2 separate regions of the Homo sapiens genome follow, and region 2 is linked to region 1. Evidence: promoter capture Hi-C in human tissues and cell types (Jung and others, 2019). All regions are on one chromosome and are shown on one strand. The core of a region is centred on a gene start or on the middle of the fragment in contact, and the rest is flanking DNA. Distances in the headings are between cores, read along the strand shown. Region 1 holds the start of SNAP25 (synaptosome associated protein 25). Region 2 holds the start of LOC101929348 (a long non-coding RNA gene).

Region 1 (4,374 bases), core at 503-3,002:
AAAATGGTTAAAGTAGTTATTACCACCTCAGCAAAATCCCGCAGTGCCATAAGAGAAATTGCAGTAGACCTTTAGGTCAGAGTTAAGTTCTAGTTTAACACCATGGTTCTTTACCTGCATTACCCTGAAGGACACACTTGGATTCTCCTGAGGAAGGCCAGTCTTAATATTGTCAAAATCTAAAGCTATCAGCCTGCGATAACCAGTGCTGATAGCAAATACTTCCAGTAACTCTGAAACCGTGGCCAAAGAGGTTAAATCTATTCAGTACAGGACCAGTAAAATTTCTCAGATATGTGTTTTTGTGGATGAATGCTTGTATTCATGCCTGATTGCAAGGATGGGGGAAGAAGGAAAAGGAAGAGTGATTCATTCTTAAAGTTGATTCTGCTTAGTTCAGCTAATCTCACATTTTTATCAAATGGAAACATAGAGAGAGATGTATCATCCCTATAAACAGATAGCATTGGCTTCTTCATATATACAGTACTTATGCTCACCCAAGATCTGTAGACAGATCTACTCTGTGTTAAAAAACAAAACCAAACAAAAACCTTGATACCCTGCTGGAGGATAAATCCATATTTTTTAAAAAATGTATTTATTTTCTACGTAAAATAAGGGTCAGAGGGCAACACAGAAGATTTCCACAAGTAGACTATTTTGTTGAAGCTATGCAGGAGGTGAGGAGGGGAACAGGAAATTGTCTGCAAAGGAGTCTCTGTGAGGAAGATTTATTTCTTTCTTGTTTTCTTTTAAGCTACTATGACTCCTCTATTAAGGGTCTCCGTAAGACCGGGGTCTCAGGGAGACAATTTGGTCTCCAGCCCTGGCACATCCAGCCCCGGCCAGGCATTTCTGCCGCAGGCAGATGAGGCGCTGCGGCCGGACCGCTGTCCCCGGTGCTGAAAGGTCGAGGGCGCCCGCGCGAGCCCTCGGTGTTGCTATCCAGGGTGCTGAGCGCGGGCCGCCGCAGTCCCCGAAGCCAGCCCACCCGCGCCAGCCCTCCGCAGAGCCCTCCCACCCGGCACGACCCGCCCGCCTCCCGCCAGCCTGCAGTTGACGTGGAGCAGGCGGCATAAATCAAGTCCGCGGGGCATGGAGGCTGCTGTCGCTGCAGCAGCTCAGCTTGCCCGGGGCGGGAACTCCCCCTTTCTCCTTTCGCCTCCCCAGCACCCACACCCTGTCTCCCCCTTAATTCTTCCCTGGATAATAGCACCCTAACGACAACAGTCATAATAATAGGGTTAGAACGACAGGGGAGGAAAACTCAACAGCCTAAATATCTCTGAAAACTGCATCGCAAAATGGAAGAAAGAGGGGGTCCCACTACTGTTTCAAAAGAGTAAGTTATTATTCGGTACGTACCCTCGCTCTTCCTCCCCGTCGCTCCATTTGCAGGGCTCCCGTTTCCCTTTTCCCCAGCAGCTCACCTCGAAAACACTTTATAAAGCCCCCACCAGACGTGCACACACGGAATACCGCACCCTAAGTGCACCAATACTTGTATTTACCCAAGCCCACTCGGACTGCCCAGCTGCTGTCCCTTCTGGGTATGCAGCCATCCCGAGCCAGAGCCACGACCTGGGGAGGGGGGTTCTTACCTGGGCTTCTCGGGAGGGTTGTGTTCTCCGGGCCTCTGCAGGTTGCAACTGTGGTGGAGCCGCCGAGCAGGGAGGGAAGGAAAGACAGCGCCTGACCTCCCCGAGGTTTCGTCTTCAATGCAACGTGAGCTCTGCCCTCATCAAAGATGGCCGTCCGTTTTGACGTCAGCAGCTTTTAATAGCCGCCCAGCGAGGGGCGGGAGGAAGTGGGGGCGGGGCACGGCGGGGGCGGGGGCGGGGCCCGGGCTGCGGCGCGCTTGACTCGGTTCCCAGTGCGCTGGCCTGCAAACCTGCGTGTTTTCACCTTCTATAAACACCCGCACGGGGCGACTCTTATGACTCCATTTTAACACTCGGTCTTGGGCAAACGCGTTCATCCCGCAACTGCATTCCTGATGTTCTTTGGTGTGTGTGCGTGTGTGTGTACATATGTGTATATGTGTGTGTATGTATATATGTATGTGTGTGTATATTTTATAATACATGTATAATATATGTATAATTTGTGTGTATGTGTATATATTCCCCCCCACCCCCACCCCCACCCCCTTTCAGTGGAATCTGTGGTTGAGTCATCTAAGGAGAGGGGAAGGCAGAGGAGGGGTAAAAGGTAGTGATGGGAGGGGTGGGGGAAATTTCAGCGGCGATTTGTTTTCTCCGAAGAGGGTCCGTAGGGGCATCCCCGTCCACCCTCGCCAGCTCCATATATGGCCAGGCTACGTGGGTTGCTATTTTTATGAGTGATTGCTTCATGTTATCGAAGCAGCGTCGAGGGCTTGTGGCTCTCGTTGCTGTGGTCAGCCGGGCAGCGAGGCTGGCGCACGTTATTTTGAACTACGTCAGAGCCAGGCTCTCTGAGCTGTTGCAGGAGTCGGGGGAAGGAGAAGGGAAGCGGAGTTAGCCCAGCCAGCGTGGGTTTGCAAGGACTCGAGGCTTGAAGTTGAGTTGTTTGCCGAGGGCAAAAACGGATGACTCTGCTTTCGGTGGAATTTGCAGTCGGTGCTGGGGTTTCATGCTGGGTGTCTTAGGGGTACCCCACGGAGGCACAGACGCCCCGAGGGAACCGTCCAAACGGCCGGGAGGAGGTGGGGGATTCAGAGCAAGGACGGCTGGGACACGGCCGAATCTGGGGGTTCACTCAGTGCGCAAACCCCGGGGTACCCGTGCAGGCTGCCTCGGGGGGCCCTCGGATGCTCAAATCAGGGCGGGGAGACAAAGGCTACTTGTGCTGGTCGTATTAGAGATTAAAAGTGATAATTATAAAGCAACAACCCTAACTGTCCTCCCTGGCCGTGCCCGGGCCCGGGAAGGGGGTGGTGCGCGGATCGCTCGGCGGTGGCAGCCTCCCGGATGATTCACAGGTGTTGGGGAGGCTGTCGCGGGGCTCTCCGCAGGGAGGGAGGGCTGGGGAGCGCGTGGGAGGTGGGGGACCTCGTCTGAGGAACTGTTTGTACTTTTCCGGGAAGGATGCGATTAGAAGTCGTGCCTCGCAATGTTAAAACTTGATGGCCTCTTTTAGGCTATGGAAAATCCTTGTCTCGCTTAGGAGAAACCATTTAGAGCTGGGTTCGGAAAAGCGGCGTACAACCTCTCCCCTTGCACCCTCGCCCCCCACCCCCGCCCCACCACACACACACACACACACACACACACACACACACACACATCCCTAGCTGGCCTGAGAGCCAAGCTTAGGCAATAATACGGCCTTTGATTGCGCTCCATTGCGGAGGGAGGGAAGCGGGGTAGGGGGAAGGGAAGAAGAGTTGTGAAGGCGCTGCGTTTAGAAAGAGACGGGTTGTTAAGAATTTAATAAAGGATACCTTTAATCGAAATTAGTAGACATAATTGTTTCTTAAAGATTCCCTGGCCTGAAGGCTTTTTTTTGACGTATTGATGTTTTTGCCATAATAATTAACAGTGTTTGGATGTTAATTAAAGCCAAATTCCTAAAAAAGGCATGTTGCTGAAATTTGTTTACTTAAATATTCATTAAACATTTAAGATTGCCATACAATAAAGAAGAAAATCTGCAAAGTCCTTAGATACTTAATTGCCAATAAAAGTCTCTTGAGTATGGCTCTTACTTTCATTATAAAGCAAGTTGGAATAGGGGGAAAGGGGTTTGAATGCAATGTACTGCAAAATCCTTTGTAGTCAGAATTTTTTCCAAAGTGTGACACTTTAAAAAAAGGCAGCATGCGGAAGTTTGAAGAGAAAAAAAAACCTGCAGAGGGAGAAAAAAAAATGTGTGTATGGCCCTCAGACTAGAAATCATTCAGGCAGAAAGTTTTGTGAAGGAATGGAGGAGGTGGGGGATTTTCCAAGTTAAAAAAAAAAAAGAAGTTAAAAAGCAACTACGTCAGTGATGGAGGCTTATCCTGCAGGCAAAAGCTATGTAGCAGTCACAGGGAAGGACTGGCTTGGTATTCTGAGTTTTCAACTGCTGATGCCCCACACTGACATCTATAAAAATGACAGACAAGAAGAGAGAGGCAGACTGTTTCAAGGCATTACAGAAAATACCATGGACCCTACAAGATTAGCTGGTGGTGGTGACAATGTTTTCCATTGCTAGTGCTTGTTGTGAAAATGATGCTGTTTGAGAGGTTCTTAGAGGTTCTTCATCTTGCTCTGGGAAAGGTAACAGAGTGTAATTTGAGATACATAAACATTGGGTACATAAAAATCTGCTAGGGATGACCAGATAACCCTAAATGTATTTTGAATAGGATAATGAGATTTTTTTCCCTTAGGATTTTCTCACGGC
Region 2 (4,374 bases), core at 998-3,497, 600 kb after region 1:
CATGTTAAGTCTCTTTTTCCCCTATGACTTTCCTCTCTTTATATTTTTGCATAGGTTTTGAGACATCTCTTCTACTTGTCAGTCTAAACCTCATGTCTCAGCAGTGACCATCTTCTCCTTCAATCAATGCTTTGAATTGCCTATTTCCAGACACTCTCTTTTGTGTCGTGCTTGAATCAACAGAGATGCTCTTGTTGCTTTTTACATTCAAGTTGTCATCTGTCTCTTCCGGTAGCTCTGTTTTGTTGGGTAAGAGTTTAATCTGTTCTGAGCCATTGTTCTCTCTCTCTCTCTCTCTCTCTCTCTTTCTCTCTCTCTTTCTCTGGCTGCTGGATACCTTTGGTTACAATATATTAATATATATATATTTTTTCTGGCTATTTTCTTTCTCTGTGTGGTAGTAGTCCCATGATTAGAGGAAGACAAAATGGAAACTACACCTGGGGACTGATGGCGTCATGCAGGCAGACTGTCAATTCCCCATTGAGATGCACGGAGGAAGCCCTCTCTTCCTCCACCATCTCTCAGACTCTCCCAACCTCCAGGGCAGAGACTCTGTATAGCTTTTAAACACCACATCTCCAGAGCTGGGAAATCCATGGTGCCATAGTTCACGGTCTTGGGTCCCCATATCACTGTGAGCCATGTTCTTCCCAGGACCTGAGCCTGCTGTCCACCCATGAGCAGCTAGAGCGCAACCTCTTCCCCATCCAGGTGGAAGCAAGCCCACAAGCTCTCTCTGTTGAGATGTCCTCAGCACCCAAGCCTTGCTGGTCCAACTGCCCATCAGCCCCAGACGCCATGTGGTCAAAAGAAGTGGACACCCTGGAGTTGAACATGGAGGAGAGGGAGAATTGTTTAGGTCATGATGGTCCCAGAATCCTCCTCCTGCTTTCCGCAATCCTTCTGAAGAGACCTGAATTCAAATTTTCATTGTTCCCTTTTAGGATCTTTGTTTCAACAAATGCCAGCCAAATACCAAGCCCAGTGCTGAGGACACAACATTGAATAAATCAGGGATGAGTCCTTCCTTCTAGGAATGTTTACTCCAAAGGGGAAATAATTGTCCATGTGATCTAGCTCTAATTACAGAGTGTTGTGAATGGGCAAATAAAGGCTGTGGTGGAGGGCAGTGTTGCTGATTCATATTTCTGCCCTCACTTTCTGTACCCACCTTGTTACAACAGAACTTCCGTCCATGTTATCTGTACACTAAAGGTGTCCATTTCATTCCATCTCATCCTTGGACAACGTTTAACAAGTTGCATGTGAAAAAAGGTGGCTGAGATGATGGAAAATCTAGAATTCAGGTGATCTGATGATTGGCTGAGAGTACTGATGATTGGCTGAGAGCACTAATGATTGGCTGAGAGCACTGATGATTGTCTGAGAGCACTGATGATTGGTTGAGAGCACTGATGATTGGTTGAGAGCCCTGGTGATCTTCTGTCAAAGAATCAAGGGAGGGAAGTAAACAATTACTTTCTTCAAACATTGAATGACTGTCCCACAGCAGGGGAATTAATAACCTCTAGGAATCCCCTGGAAGGAAAAATAGGAAGAGGTAAGTGAAGGCAGCACGGAGAGACTCCAGTACTTTACCTCAATAGGGCAAGACTTGGAAATGTGTTATCCAGCAATGCAAGGGGCTGCCTTGGAAAGGCGAGCTCCTCATCTTTAGGAATGTTCAAATATTTATCCAACGGCACCCTTAAAAGGGACCTGAACACAGCAGACAGGGCAGGAGAAAAAGCCAGGAAGAACTGGGAGTTGAGAAGTTTGTTAGGGATTTGGTGTCTGAGAAATGAGAGTATTGGGCAGTGAAAAGGGGTAAGAGAAGTGTGGCCAGGGTTGCCAAGTGTGTCTCCTTCAAAGAGAAGCGTGGAAGGAATAGAATTGTTTTTCAGTTTTATCTTGCCATGTCCTAGATAATAGCTAAGTTTCCTGAGATCAAAAGCAGTCATGGCTTTTTTCTTCCAAACTTTCTTTGTTTCTATTTTCTCTGGTCTACCTAAAGTAAAACAACAGTAAACAATAGGATCTGGCCAGGCACAGTGGCTCACACTTGTAATCCCAGCACTTTGGGAGGCTGAGGCAGGCAGATCATTTGAACCCAGGAGTTCCAGACCAGGCTGGGCAACAAGGCGAAACCCTGTTTCTACTAAAAATACAAAAATTATCTAGTTGTGGTGGTACACACCTGTAGTCCCAGCTACTCAGGAGGCTGAGGTGGGAAGATCACTTGAGCCAAAGAGGTCAAGGCTTCCGTGAGCCATGATCCCATCACTGCACTCCAGCCTGGGCAACAGTGAGATTAAAAAAAAAAAAAAAAAAAAAAAAAAAAAAAAAACGAAAGAAAGAGAGAGAAAAGAATCTGAGAGAAGCCACTTTCTACCTTCCTTTCTTCCTCTTAAAACCTCCAGTCCTGAAACATATGATATGTTATGAAAATATCGATTCATCTCAGCTTTTCCTTAAGTTGCTTGTACTTATAGAACTGTACCTGTCACCCTGCTCAATAAAGATTTGATGATTGAATTAAAAATAAGTTCCAGCCGGGCGCAGTGGCTCACGCCTGTAATCCCAGCACTTTGGGAGGCCAAGGTGGGTGGATCACGAGGTCAGGAGTTCAAGACCAGCCTGGACAACATGGTGAAACCCCATCTCTACTAAAAATACAAAAAAAAAAAAATTAGCTGGGCCTGGTGGCACATGCCTGCAATCTCAGCTACTCGGGAGGCTGTGGCAGGAAAATTACTTGAACTCGGGAAGCAGAGGTTGCAGTGAGCCAAGATTGTGCCATTACACTCCAGCCTGGGTGACAGAGCGAGACTCTGTCTCAAAAAAAAAAAAAAAAAAAAAGTTCCAGGCCGTAATAGTCTGTCCTGTGTATCAACATATGTCTCAGCAATAACACTGGGCAGGGGATCTTAACAGAAAACTCTGTAGCCACATGGAGTGGAGCTATGTTTTATCAATTTGATTATAATTTAGAGGGGTTAAAACTTGGGGGGGTACCTGACTCTTTGGAGTTATGTAGTATTTACTGTATGTTCTGGCACTTCCTAGAGCTGTTCCTTCTCCCTTGATAGTGTCGCCCAGCGCTGTATGTTCCTTGGAGTATGCTGTCATCTAGTTGTGTGAGAGCCACATTACAAGCCTATTTGTCACATGCTTACATAATGTTTATTTTTCCTTATACTAATATTACCTCCACTGAATGTTAATTCGTTGTAGCGTTTCTTTTGATAGGTTCGACCTTTTCTTCTGAGATGTATCTTCAATTTCAGGACACAATTTAGAGGCTTAAAGGTATCTTTGATGCTTTGACAACAAACCTCATGTAAACTTCCACTTTTTTTATTTTTCGTGCTTTGGTAGAAGAGCTGTTCAGATAAGAATTGGGATTCTTGCCGGGCGTCGTGGCTCACGCCTGTAATCCTAGCACTTTGGGAGGCCGAGGCGGGTGGATCACGAGGTCAGGAGATCGAGACCATCCTGGCTAACACGGTGAAACCCCGTCTCTACTAAAAATACAAAAAATCAGCCGGCCGTGGTGGTGGGCGCCTGTAGTCCCAGCTACTCGGGAGGCTGAGGCGGAAGAATGGCGCGAACCTAAGAGGTGGAGCTTGCAGTGAGCCGAGATCGCACCACTGCACTCCAGCCTGGGTGACAGAGCGAGACTCCATTTCAAAAAAAAAAAAAAAAAAAAAAAAGGATTGGGATTCTTGGGTCTCATCCCTGCAAATTGAGTAAGTCTCTCAGCCTCAGTTTTATCATATTACAATTAAGCAATTAAGCGCTTAACTGTGCTAGCTGTTTCCAATGTCATTACATTAACCAACTGGTATAAAAATAAAATCGTCTGGGAAGAATTACTTACCGTACAGATCTGGGGCCCAATCCCCAGAGTTTTGACTCAATGTCTTTGAGAACCACTGGGCTAACTCGTTTCTTTCCACTGATTGAAATTTTAAATGGTTAAAGCAGCCTGGCTTTCTCAAGAAAAGTACACGGGCGCCACCTAGTGTCCCTGAAAAGTTCGTACAGCTCACACATCAGATGTATTGAAGCTTTAACTTGGCAGGGTTACCAGTTATAAATGCAATCGAATTTGCATTTTAATTAGTGAAGCCGATTATGTATTGAGATAAACAAGTGTTGTGCCATCGACTCACTTGGAATAATTAGTTTGATCTCACTTTTGATTTATGACTTGGCATTTTTCTGGACTCAGTTATGCCTCTCAGGCTTATTCTGTCTGAATCACACACAATTGCAATAGTCCAGCTTTTTGCAATTATCCGTATTTTTGTACAACTCCAGAAAAACCAAAGTGAAAGAATAAACAAAAAGATTTTCCCAGAAGAAAAT

Evidence for each region. The method cuts DNA at HindIII sites, captures the fragments that hold promoters and counts their contacts. A contact is called where the count stands out against the background at its distance.
Region 2: a contact is called between a fragment that was not itself captured here and the fragment with the promoter of SNAP25 in region 1, in 2 of the 25 tissues and cell types used here (dorsolateral prefrontal cortex and hippocampus).

What each region holds. Positions count from the first base shown.
Region 1 is chr20:10,216,208-10,220,581 of GRCh38, reverse strand. SNAP25 (synaptosome associated protein 25) reads right to left here and starts at 1,752. Exons shown (of 8, transcript NM_130811.4): 1 at 1,605-1,752. It overlaps SNAP25-AS1 (SNAP25 antisense RNA 1), which reads left to right and starts at 1,076. Exons shown (of 5, transcript NR_040710.1): 1 at 1,076-1,345. The HindIII fragment of the contact is 5,357 bases long and covers 1-3,969 here.
Region 2 is chr20:9,616,892-9,621,265 of GRCh38, reverse strand. The region is part of intron 3 of PAK5 (p21 (RAC1) activated kinase 5); the gene reads left to right. It overlaps LOC101929348 (a long non-coding RNA gene), which reads right to left and starts at 1,259. Exons shown (of 3, transcript XR_244242.4): 1 at 1,175-1,259. The HindIII fragment of the contact is 7,662 bases long and covers 1-4,374 here.